Linked DNA regions of Homo sapiens: region 2 is linked to region 1. Evidence: promoter capture Hi-C in 16 types of primary human blood cells and fetal thymus (Javierre and others, 2016). All regions are on one chromosome and are shown on one strand. Each heading gives the region's core, a stretch centred on a gene start or on the middle of the fragment in contact. The rest is flanking DNA. Distances are from core to core; before and after follow the strand shown.

The links. Contacts are between HindIII fragments. The CHiCAGO score rates a contact against its expected background, and 5 or more counts as called.
Region 2: a fragment that was not itself captured here is called in contact with the fragment with the promoter of IL1R1-AS1 in region 1 in 2 of 17 cell types (activated CD4 T cells and total CD4 T cells); the score reaches 7.2 in activated CD4 T cells.

The regions. Positions count from the first base shown.
Region 1 is chr2:102,177,874-102,184,348 of GRCh38, forward strand. It overlaps IL1R1-AS1 (IL1R1 antisense RNA 1), which reads right to left and starts at 4,235. Exons shown (of 3, transcript NR_174960.1): 1 at 4,021-4,235; 2 at 2,039-2,128. IL1R1 (interleukin 1 receptor type 1) reads left to right here. Exons shown (of 12, transcript NM_000877.4): 12 at 1-2,001. The HindIII fragment of the contact is 1,818 bases long and covers 2,437-4,254 here.
Region 2 is chr2:102,461,635-102,468,278 of GRCh38, forward strand. No RefSeq gene overlaps it. Among named protein-coding and RNA genes, the nearest start is that of SLC9A4, 8.3 kb to the right of the region's middle. The HindIII fragment of the contact is 4,818 bases long and covers 326-5,143 here.

The DNA.
Region 1 (6,475 bases), core at 2,985-5,484:
CGCTCTTCTGTCATCCCGCTCCTGCTGAAACACCTCCCAGGGGCTCCACCTGTTCAGGAGCTGAAGCCCATGCTTTCCCACCAGCATGTCACTCCCAGACCACCTCCCTGCCCTGTCCTCCAGCTTCCCCTCGCTGTCCTGCTGTGTGAATTCCCAGGTTGGCCTGGTGGCCATGTCGCCTGCCCCCAGCACTCCTCTGTCTCTGCTCTTGCCTGCACCCTTCCTCCTCCTTTGCCTAGGAGGCCTTCTCGCATTTTCTCTAGCTGATCAGAATTTTACCAAAATTCAGAACATCCTCCAATTCCACAGTCTCTGGGAGACTTTCCCTAAGAGGCGACTTCCTCTCCAGCCTTCTCTCTCTGGTCAGGCCCACTGCAGAGATGGTGGTGAGCACATCTGGGAGGCTGGTCTCCCTCCAGCTGGAATTGCTGCTCTCTGAGGGAGAGGCTGTGGTGGCTGTCTCTGTCCCTCACTGCCTTCCAGGAGCAATTTGCACATGTAACATAGATTTATGTAATGCTTTATGTTTAAAAACATTCCCCAATTATCTTATTTAATTTTTGCAATTATTCTAATTTTATATATAGAGAAAGTGACCTATTTTTTAAAAAAATCACACTCTAAGTTCTATTGAACCTAGGACTTGAGCCTCCATTTCTGGCTTCTAGTCTGGTGTTCTGAGTACTTGATTTCAGGTCAATAACGGTCCCCCCTCACTCCACACTGGCACGTTTGTGAGAAGAAATGACATTTTGCTAGGAAGTGACCGAGTCTAGGAATGCTTTTATTCAAGACACCAAATTCCAAACTTCTAAATGTTGGAATTTTCAAAAATTGTGTTTAGATTTTATGAAAAACTCTTCTACTTTCATCTATTCTTTCCCTAGAGGCAAACATTTCTTAAAATGTTTCATTTTCATTAAAAATGAAAGCCAAATTTATATGCCACCGATTGCAGGACACAAGCACAGTTTTAAGAGTTGTATGAACATGGAGAGGACTTTTGGTTTTTATATTTCTCGTATTTAATATGGGTGAACACCAACTTTTATTTGGAATAATAATTTTCCTCCTAAACAAAAACACATTGAGTTTAAGTCTCTGACTCTTGCCTTTCCACCTGCTTTCTCCTGGGCCCGCTTTGCCTGCTTGAAGGAACAGTGCTGTTCTGGAGCTGCTGTTCCAACAGACAGGGCCTAGCTTTCATTTGACACACAGACTACAGCCAGAAGCCCATGGAGCAGGGATGTCACGTCTTGAAAAGCCTATTAGATGTTTTACAAATTTAATTTTGCAGATTATTTTAGTCTGTCATCCAGAAAATGTGTCAGCATGCATAGTGCTAAGAAAGCAAGCCAATTTGGAAACTTAGGTTAGTGACAAAATTGGCCAGAGAGTGGGGGTGATGATGACCAAGAATTACAAGTAGAATGGCAGCTGGAATTTAAGGAGGGACAAGAATCAATGGATAAGCGTGGGTGGAGGAAGATCCAAACAGAAAAGTGCAAAGTTATTCCCCATCTTCCAAGGGTTGAATTCTGGAGGAAGAAGACACATTCCTAGTTCCCCGTGAACTTCCTTTGACTTATTGTCCCCACTAAAACAAAACAAAAAACTTTTAATGCCTTCCACATTAATTAGATTTTCTTGCAGTTTTTTTATGGCATTTTTTTAAAGATGCCCTAAGTGTTGAAGAAGAGTTTGCAAATGCAACAAAATATTTAATTACCGGTTGTTAAAACTGGTTTAGCACAATTTATATTTTCCCTCTCTTGCCTTTCTTATTTGCAATAAAAGGTATTGAGCCATTTTTTAAATGACATTTTTGATAAATTATGTTTGTACTAGTTGATGAAGGAGTTTTTTTTAACCTGTTTATATAATTTTGCAGCAGAAGCCAAATTTTTTGTATATTAAAGCACCAAATTCATGTACAGCATGCATCACGGATCAATAGACTGTACTTATTTTCCAATAAAATTTTCAAACTTTGTACTGTTATCCTGAGAATCTGTTCTTTGTCCAGTCCACAGCTTACCTGCACATTTGCACATTCCCAGGCCTCAACAAGGTGAGGAGACCTTCTGCAGAGAGTTCTTCCTGTTGTGGGGAAGCAGGTGGGGAGGAGCTGGAGGAGGGGAGGGGAGTGGAGGTCAGAGGCTATTGGCTTAACAGTGAGCCCTAACTCCCATCTTCTAGCTAAACTCTACTCCCTCTGCTCATTTGCTTCTAAAATGGATTAAAATGTGAGCCTTGTCAATAACTGTTTATTAACTTCTTATCAATTTACTATTAACTTATCACTTTACCTGTCCAAAAAATGATAAAGGGAATATTTGTATAGACTTTTACATTTTACAAAGCGCTTTTATTTTTTCCTTTGACCCAGAAGGTGGGCAAAATTGGTGAACTTGCTGTCCAAAATGCATGCTCTAAAGCTTGTTAACTCTGATGGTCAGAGATGACACCCAGTCAGTGCCTCCTTCTTACCTCACAGCAATGCTAAGGGGCAGGTGACTCTCTCAGTACCTGGGGAGAAGGGGCAGGTGGCAGGTTGGCTTAGAGTCTGAGTCCAGTATGAGCACTGCCTCCACCAGCTACCTGGAGTGAAACCTTAGGCAAAGTATTTGAGCCTCAATTTACTCATTATATAGGTATAATATCTAACTCATAGAGTTAAGATTAAAAAGATTAAATATATTATGACAAGCCTAGTGCTTAGCATAAAGCAGGTTCTCAGAAAATGGTTGCTTTGTTAGTAGCAATTCTATGAATTGCTTATCTGAAGCCCTATTAGAATCTGCAAATGGAAGGGGTAGAGAGGACTTATAAATTAGAAATGACAATTGACACTAAGGACAAAGTACACAATGTCAAACTGAAGTTGTATAACCACAGAGGCCAGGAGCCCTGTCCAGCCCACAGCCCCTCCACTGGCCCCCAACCTGAAAGAATGTTTCTCACTGGAAGAGTTCAGGGAGCTTTGCACCACATTTTGGTTATGATACCAGTTAATGTGAAAACCATTAGGAAAATCAGTGCTAACCACCATTTAAAACTCACACGTTTTCCTCTCTTTATCAGATAAATTTTCCCCAGTAAATGCAAAATAGGTTTTTAGGGAGTCTCTGGAATTATTTTACAACAGGAATGCCGTCTGGTGGAAAAAGACCTGGAACTAAATTCCTGCACTGTCACAGCTTTGAAACCACAACAAAGCACCTGGTTGTATGGAACCCCCATTTTCTCATGTGTAAAACAGGACTTCCTATGTTACAAGATGTTTATATGTAGGAAGTCTCTGTCCAGTATACGGGATAGAATCTCAAAATATATTTTCTTAGTTTTATCACTTGATGAGTACAGATAAAACAAAAAACTTACTCATCCAAAATGTATATTTTTCAAATTCTAGGGTTTTAGGTGTGTGCGGGGGTTGGAGAGTGATATAATGCTGGTGTTAACTTTTTAAAATGATCACAGCTGCTACTTAATCCCATTTTAGCAAGTCAGGATCTGGTTTAGCATTTTTAATATAGTACGTTCCCCAAGTAGTAATTGAAGGACTTCTAAGTATAAATACCATGCAATTATAAAATCAGAGATTTCCTCCAGCTTATTTGTCAAAAGAAAATCTTTTCGCCTTTGACGTGAGGCTCTGGGAGTGTGGTGAGGTTGGCTTAGCGTGCAGGGCATAGGGAGCGTAGCAGGTGGGGAAGAATGTGGATTGGGCTGGAAGGGAAAAATTGTTCCTCTGTTACTAAAATAAAATACATGAATGAATCACCATCATGGCAATAATTCATAAAATGGAGTACACATGAAAAAATGTATGTGGGAAGACAGAGGAAAGGGATAATTTTTTGATGTGATAACATTCATTTTACAACCAAAGATTGTGTGTGTGTGTGTGGGGGGGGGCGGGGTGTTTAAATTTTAAGGAGAGGAAGAGTTACAGGAATAGGTGGTACTATTTAAAATGAGTATTAATCATTCAAAACAAAAACATGCTCATCTTACCACATGCCGCTCAGGTTTCTTCTGAAGAAGGCTTGGCTGCTCAAAGTACGTAAATCATACCTATACCTTAAATCTGAGCCCCAAACATTAGCACAGCAGTCTCTCAAAATTTGCAGCTGTTAGACCAGTTGAGCCTGTACCACCTGACTCTAGACTCATAGGAGGCTGTTGACATCTCTAAAGCTGTGTTCAACCAGTTGAGAGATTAATTTACCTACAGGGTGAAGTTGATGAAGCTTGTTTTTCTTAGAACCTTTGACCTGGAAGTGATCCCAAGTGCCATTTGGCTTCTGCTTCCGGGTCTGGGAAGGCTACAATGATACCATTCTACAGTGTTCATTGGTTTTCCTGTCAATCTACACATCCTGAGGATGAGATTCCTTAGGCTTCTTTAGTGAAACGGTATTGCATGTTTCACAGCCTGTGTGGGGACCCACTCCTGCTTTGGTTCATGTAGTTAATCCTTCCCTGGCTAACACTACATTTTCCCTCCACAGCCATGTTACGTCACTTACCCTGCTTAGCCAGGGACAGACTGCAGCTTCTCATTTGCTTTCAAGGCTGTAGACAGCAGCCATCTGTTTCAACAGTTTTTGTCGTCAGATGCTATTCCGTAGTCCTGCCTTCCACACTGTACTTGATTGCTTCTGAATTCTTGTCTTTCCTAAAACTGGACCCATGTCCTCTCTCAAATTCAAAAACACAGGGGAAATATTTGTGTTCTCAAGCGTACTTTTAGATTTTTAAAAAGTGCTAACCAAGTGGTTAACATTATGCTAGACACTGAGAAAATTACAAGGTAAGAAAAAACAGAAATCTAGCCAGAGAAGAAGAGTGTGAAGAGAAAGTTGTTCAGGAAACAATCTCATATGACAGAGGGTCTTAAACCCATGACTGAACTATTTGGACTTTACCACTAGGAGTAGGTATATGGGAGATATTGGAGGCAACAGGTTGGAAGAACTTTCGACATAAAGAAACACATTGATAGGGCACTATTGTACAGCAGATTGGGAGGAGGTAAAAGGTTACATAGGGAGGTTGTTAGGAAGGTGGTAGAGTAATCCCCTTGGGAGTCAATTATATTTAAGACATTTTATAAAATAAATTAGGAGAAACTTCTTTTTATTACGAAAGCAATAATGGTTTGAGAGAATGTGGAAATTTCTAAAACATATAAGGAAGAAAAATGTCACCCATAACTTCACAACCTAAAGATAATTATTGATATTTTATAACATTTCTATGGATATAACTGAGACCATATAATACATGGAGTTTAACACTCTTTTTAAAACTTAGCATAAATATTTGCCCACATTACTATTATACGAAATACAATCTATAAGTAGTCACTAAGTCTATCAAATGGATGGTCCATAATCTGATAGCTTTGCTGCCTTCAGTGGACATCCAGATTATTTCTAGTTTTAGCTATCAGTAGTCAAAGTGCAATAGTTATCCTTTCTCAAATATTTTTACTTCCCTAATCATTTGCTTAGCATATATTCAGAGGGCAAGATTCCTTTTCAGGTTCTTGATGTTCCATAGAGACATTTGCTCCTCTTACACAAGCAGTGTGTGGCACTGAGAATACTCATTATTAAATCATTGCTAATTTGATAGACAAAAAAAGGTTATCCTTTGCCAGTTAACTATTAACATGGTTGAATGTTTCACTTAACAATTACAATTGGAGGCGGGTGGATCACTTGAAGCCAGGAGTTTGAGACCAGCCTGGTCAACATGGTGAAATGAAACCCCATCTCTACCAAAAACACACAAAAAGCAAAAAACAAAAATTACCTGGGCGTGGTGGTGCACGCCTGTAATCCCAGCTACTAAGGAGGCTGAGGCAGCTGAGGCTATTGGCTTCGTCTGTGTTATTTTATTTTGGAATTTACAAACTGTTTCCTCCTTTGTGATTTTGCACTAGCTGTTTCCTACTTTGGGGAAAGCCCTTCTCGCAGACCTCCACATGCTGGACTCCTTGCCTTGACAAGGGCCTCTGCTGCACCATAGTCCCTTCTGAAGGGAGGACTTCCCCAACACCCTCTCCATCACTTCATCATAATTGCTTTCAGGGTTCTCACCAGCCTGAAATCATCCTTCAAAATTTTCTTATTTACTTGACACTAGAATGACTGTAAACTCTAAGAGGGTCTGTCTTCTGTACAGCTGTATTTCTGGCACTCAGAATATCACCTGGAACACAGTGGGAACTGTATAAATATTTGATGAGGGACTGAGCGAACTAATGAATGGAGCTCGAGGGAGTGAGTGATTAAGCCCAGGACTGCAGGAAACCAAGTGCTTTAAGGACCTCCTTCCAGTCTCCCTGGCTGCTTCTTCCATTTCTAGAAGTCCATTTCATCCCAACAATAGCAGTCTGCTACAGAAATGCTGCTATATATTCCCAAGCCTCATAGAGGGGAAATATGAGAACTTAAGGGCC
Region 2 (6,644 bases), core at 1,485-3,984, 280 kb after region 1:
AGAACACAGCAGCTGGAACCAGACGGACCCTCCTGTAATGCTTGTCCAACTCCCTGTACCAAAGAGGTGAATACTATGCTCACTGTATAGGATGAATGCTTCAAAAATTCAATCCATTACACACAGCAGGTACTGAATGGTGAATTCAGAGCTGTGAGGTAATACATTGATAACTGGTGATAAATTGATAACTGGTATAGGGTGAATTAATTAACAAATAGTTGTACAAGCAAACCATGAAATACTTCTCAGCAATACAAAGGAATTCACCACTGAGACATGCACCAGCTTGGATAAATCTCAATGCAGTATGCTGGGTAGAAAAAGCTTATCTCTAAAGGTTACATGATTCCATTTCTATGACATTTTCAAAAAGTCAAAACAGTGACAGAACAGATTATTGGTTTCCAGGAGTTAGGGATGGAGGAGGGCGGGTCTCAAAGAAAGAGCATGTAACCTGATTGTCTTGGTGATTATGTGAATTTACATCCGTATTTAAATGCACACAACTGTAAATCAAACAAGCTAATTTTATTGTATGTTAATTTAAAAATAAAAATGTAAACCCATTCTCCCTAACCCTACCAAGATGTCCACTGCTCCTGGTGCACCTGATGAAGGTGATACCTTCTCTGTCTCCACCTCGTCTTCTGCCCCATGCAGTAAAGCCCCTAATGGTCCATTCTTCCAATGTGACTCTAACCTGGTTATTCTGCACAGCATTCACCTGGTTCATGGGGAATTGGATGCCCACTTTCCCCACCATTGCTCCCAGGCTTCCCTCTCTTTCCTTGCTCTCCAACTGCATTTGTTCCAGCTGATCTGCCATTGTCAATGATATCCTGCCGAGGATCAGGCACCAGTCTGATTTTTGAAACCCAAAGAAAAGATTATAAACTCTTTCAAGACTTTTTTTACTTGTCTACATTCCAATTACATAGATTCTGTGGGGATGAGAACTCAGCTCTGTACAGCTTTAGCAGGGGTGAAATGTCAGTCTTCCCCGCTGGCAGAAAGCCTCGCATCTATGAGTTGTGACCTTGGAGCTCTCTAATTGGGGGGCTGTAGGGTCTTTTACATAGGTCTCTGGGGATGCGAGTGCTGGACCAGTTTGGCTACCCTTAGCAAGTCCTGCAGGGGTTTTGTCTAACATCTCTGTTTGAACTGAGAGTGCACTTGCCACTCTAAGTCCTTAAATTTGTTACCTTTGCCAAAATTCAAGGTCAACTGAAAAACGCCCCATTTAACCTCTGATTGTACCACCCCCAGGTAAGTTTCTGTGCCCTTTAAAAAGCCAACTATATACAGGAAAGTCTCTGACCAGAACTTGGCACAGTTAAATATCACTTACTGGCTTTTCTTACCTTTGTATTCTGGTTCATTTCACGTCTAGGAGTTTTTCATAAGCCCCACATCTGTAACTGGATAATTGAACAGGCTGAATTTACTAAGATATCTGCAGAAAATGGCGTTGCTCTTCTCCCACCATTGCCTCACTACATTTTTTAAGGTCGCATTTGCTTCAACTGATCAGATCTCATAAGAAGCTATTTACAAATCAACCACTCAGTTACGGATGGATGATCATGTACGCAATTGTACTTTAACTAGAGCTAACTGCAGCGATGTGACAGAGAAAATGTTACGTGTTCACCAAAATCATTTTGTTTTTCTGAACACACAGCCACTTTTCCCAGCCTTCTTTGTAGTTGGTTTGGGACACGTGACTAATATTTTCTAGAAGTAGAGTGGATGTGATAGGGTGATTTCTAGACTGAGGCAATGCAGATATAACTTTTGCACACTCTGTCTTGCCCATTGTGACCTTGGAGGCTACATGCTTGAGCTGGCATGCCCACATGATAAAGGTGTTCCTTATCCACATTGAAACTATAATGTGGGTACAAAGTAAACTACCTATGTTCAGCCACTGAAGTTTCTAGATGATTTATTATTGTTGCGGAGTTTAAAGTGTCCTAACTGACAAAAAAAGTTGAGTCTTTTTTGTTCTCTTTCTTAACGTCTCAGAGTGTTCTGAGGGTTTTCTCATCTGAAACTGTCATGGTTTTCAGAGTTAAGAAATTCACACTGAAACAGTTCTCTTTTGGTGGACAGCATCCTGATTTCCCTCTATGTTGTTCTGTCTCATTTCCCCGCATAATTCCTACTTCTTGCCTTTTGATTCTGCACTATGTGCCTGTGACAAGGCAGTTCAGGCAATCATTGCTCAACTGAACTGAGCTCTTTGTGTACCACCACACAAGTGAAGATCCTAATGAAGAATCCTTCGCACCCCACTCCTAGACTTGCACAACAGGTATTGACAACTTATTCCAGTAGGCGCTCTTACCAACAGTTTTTTTTCTTTCTTTCTTTCTTTTTTTTTTTTTTGAGACAGAGTCTCACTCCGTCGCCCAGGCTGAAGTGCAGTGGTGCGATCTCGGCTCGCTGCAACCCTCTGCCTCTCGGGTTCAAGTGATTCTCCTGCCTCAGCCTCTGGAGTAGCTGGGATTACAGATGCGTACCACCATGCCCAGTTAATTTTTGTATTTTTAGTAGAGACGGCGTTTCACCATGTTGGTCAGGCTGGTCTCGAACTCCTGACCTCATGATCCACCCGCCTCAGCTCCCAAAGGGCTGGGATTACAGGTGTGAGCCACTGCGGCAGGCCACCTTCAACGCTTTTCCAAGTCTTTCTGATTTTCTCTCTTAAAATTAACTAAATGTCTCTTCCCTTTTGCCAGGTAGGTACAATATAGACATTTCTCAAAGGGAACAGAATACACTGCAGTCCCATCATTTAGCATATTTCTCAGTAAAATGGGATTCACTGTGAGTGTGCAAGTGTGGGTACCTTATGGCAAGTGGGTTTAATTGGTATGATCAATTACAATCACATGTACCCATCCAACATCACTGGTCCTCATCCAACAACATACACAGACACTAAACTCAGTAGAATAGGGCTGGCTGCTGTGGGAGGAGCACATGCAGTATAGCTTGCAAAGATGTTCTTGGTCATTTGATCTCCTACAGATCCATCACTTTCTCCATGCTGTGAGATTCCTATCAAAGGTGCCAAAATAGCCTCATCCTGGGTACCCTACCAGTCTTGATCCTCAGGGCTTCTATCACTATTTCACATAAAATTGTGAACAGTCTGTGACTTTTGTATGAGGGGCTTACAAACCCTGGGTGCTCTTGGTTCTTGAACAAAACTGAGCACTGGTTAGGCCACACCCTTGAGTCTGGAGGAGGCAGAACCAATGTCTGGGCCCCTAAATTTTGCCCCTGCCCCTGCTGTCCTATGCCTCAGAAGCCCATCTTTGTTTCTCACACAGAAAACATCCTGATTCTGATTAGAAACCCTCTTACCTGAGTAGTTCCAGTAATGACTTTGGACCAAGAACCATGTGCACAAATTCATTTGCCTACAAAATGGCATAATCCCACCCATGCTGGTTCAATTATCAAAACATGACCTCACTGTAAAAGACTTTTTTTTTTTTTAAGACAAAGTCTCACTCTGTTGTCCAGGTTGGAGTGCAGCAGCTCAACCATGGCTCACTGTAGCCCCAACCTCCTGGGCTCAAGCAATTCCCCCAATCCCCTCTCAGAGGAGCTGGGACTAGCTGGGACTACAGGTATATACCACCATGCCCTGCTTTTTAAAATTATTATTATTAATTTTTGTAGAGATGAAATCTTCCTATGTTACTAGCACTGGTATCAAACTCCTGGGCTTGAGGGATCCTCTCACTTTGGCCTCCCAAAGTGCTTAGATTACAGGCATGAGCCACCACTCCCACCTGACCCAAGAGGCTTTCAGCTTCCTTTACATCTGAGCACTGGGCAAATACCCCATGGATAGGTCCTGCCTACTGGTTGACAAGAGCCTATTACCCACCCCCTGCTTCTAGCCTCATAAATTTCTGGAACCACACATGTGTTTCCCAGGCCTTCTTTGCCCACTGTGCGCTAATTGTTTCTTATCAATGTTAGAATTTGTTTGTTTTTGTTTTTATTTTTTTTGTTCAGGAGCATGCTTTCATCTATGTGTCATGAAGGTGATGGAGAAGTGAAGTATTCAAGCAAAGGGAAGGATGTCTTATCAGTTATGGAAGCTCAGACTGGCAGGGAAGTATCTGGGGACAGCGTGGTATTGCTAGCCCATGTTACCGAGGTGGAGATATTTATCTTCGCCTCAACTTAAAGCATTGGGGGAAACTAAATGTGGAGGTTTAGAATCTTGCTCTCTCCTTCTGAGGCACCCTTGGCAGATTGGTTAGGTATAAAAATGCTTCCTGGCCTCTGCTTCAGTGGCCACTCAGCTGGTAGCTACAGGATCTGTTCTGCAGCAGAGCATTCTGGGATAAGCAGTTCATTTCAATGATTTAATACAGATGGATCTTTGGAGAGTCTCTCTAGTGCTTTAACAAAAACCCTCCCTTTGCTAAAGGCTGATAATCATAAGTACTATATTGTTAGGGGACATAAACTCTGTCTTGTAACAAAGGACAGATTTCAGAAGTAAAAAGCTAGCTATGGAAGTGTCCTGTACCAGGGATACTGGCATACTTTTCTGTTTTAATAGAGTACTGAAGAAAACTCAGGTTCTGCCAATCGAGACAACAAAGAGAACAAATTCTTTTACAGGTCACAACTAGTTTCATCACAGGAAGCCAGAGCCAGGCAGTGGAAAGCTCTCCTAAAGTTTTCTTCTATGGACTGAATTGTGTCCCCCTAAAATGCACATTTGAAGCCCTACCCCCTAACCTCCAGTGTGTCTGATTTTGGTGATAGGGTCTTTAGGAGGTAAAGTTAATGAGGTAACAGGGGTAGTACCCTGGACCCATATGATTATTGTCCTTGCAGGAAGAAACACCAGAGATTCTTTCTTTCTCACACTAGCTTGCACAGAAAAAAGGCCACATGAGGACTTAGCAAGAAGGCAACCATCTACAAGTCAGGAAGAGAGGCCTCACCAGAAACCTAATCAGCTACCACCTTGATCTTGGACTTCCCACCTCCAGAATCATGAGAAAATAAGTTTTTGTTCATGAGAAAATAAGTTTTTGTTGTTTAAGCCACCCAGTCTGTGATAACTTGTTATGACAGCCTGAGAAAATTAATACAGTTCCCAAGCTTACCTGGGTATGTGATGCTGGAGATGATATGAAGCAGGCAGAAGCCTTGAAGGAGGAATAGATTTACCTGCACTGAATTATAGAAAATGGGAGGTGGCACTGGTCACTGGTATATGAGTTGGTTCTTTGAAGACTAATTGTGAATAAAGTTCAGCTGGCTTCCTCCACACTCATGCACGTACTCGAAGCCTGAGTAAAGGAGAAAACTGCAGTCTCCTCTGGTCCACGGTATTGCCCACATCTCATTGGCTTATGTTTGCAATGTCCATTTATCTAAACTGCCTGAATATCTATCAGCAATCCTTCTGCTAACAAAAGCAGCCTCTTCCCAATGTCAGAACACGTTATCCACCTACCTTAATGAGAATCAGTGTTCCTCGAAATCCAGTGTCATGGTCCCCCCTAAGGGAATAGGAATTTAGTTGAGGAAAGAAAGAAAAGAGGGAAAACAGACCTACTAGGCGTTCCTAATGTAGGTGTTGTTGGTGATGGGTTATGGGTTGAGTGGGGTGGAAGTGGGAGGGGATCAGCCCTTGGAACAAAGAGGAAAGATTAGGGAAGATACAATTGCTAGCTCAGCCATTTTAGACTGGGTTCAACTAGCCCTGTGACTTATTGTCTAAACAGTGGTGACTGGTGACAATGTGGGTAAATAGAGAAAAATGACACGTTTCATTTTTAACCACCTGTCTGTCTTATTTCCACCATCCAATAAATTTAGGATGTTTTGTGGACAAGTAACTTATTAGGAAGTATTATAGGATACTGAAGGATATTAGACTTCTACCTATGTGGAGTTTATAATCACTTTGAAATAAAATGAATCTAATACTAATCTGGTATCAATTCTGTATTAAGCATTTTTCTTTCTGTTATTTGTCATGTCACCTAATCCTCAAACATCTTTAGAATAGGCATCATCATCATCATCACCATCATCATCGTGGATAAAGTAACTGAGACTGAAAGAGGTTTAAGACTTGCCCAAGTTCACATAGCTTCAAATTTTTCCCCCTTGCAAAGTTTGTATTCCCTTAGGGAAGCTATCACAGTAGAACTGTAAGAATCTGACATTAACTCTGGTGTGAAGATCTGTCTTATTTCAAAGCTTACATTCATGCCCACCCCATCCACCCAGACTACACTGTGGTATTTACCCTCTCCTTCCATATAGGGGGGGTCTCCTGGACTTGATTTTGCCTTTACCCATCCCCTCTGTTTCACTCTGAGCAGTGGAAGTTTGACTTTGGGGAGCAGAGACAGAGCTCAGCTTTCTGTCCTGAAAGCAGGGTCATAGCTTTTGACTTCTCTCCAGCTTAAGATGTAGGCTTTCAATTTAGGGGTATGATATACCAGAACTTGATCCAGGCCATCCAGTTTAATTGCTAGCTGTGGTCTTGGAAGGCAAATCATCTTTCTGGACAGCATTGACCAATTCTCTATCACTACTCTTTTTCATTCTTCTTCCTAAAAAAGAATATAAATTTGAGCCCTGAC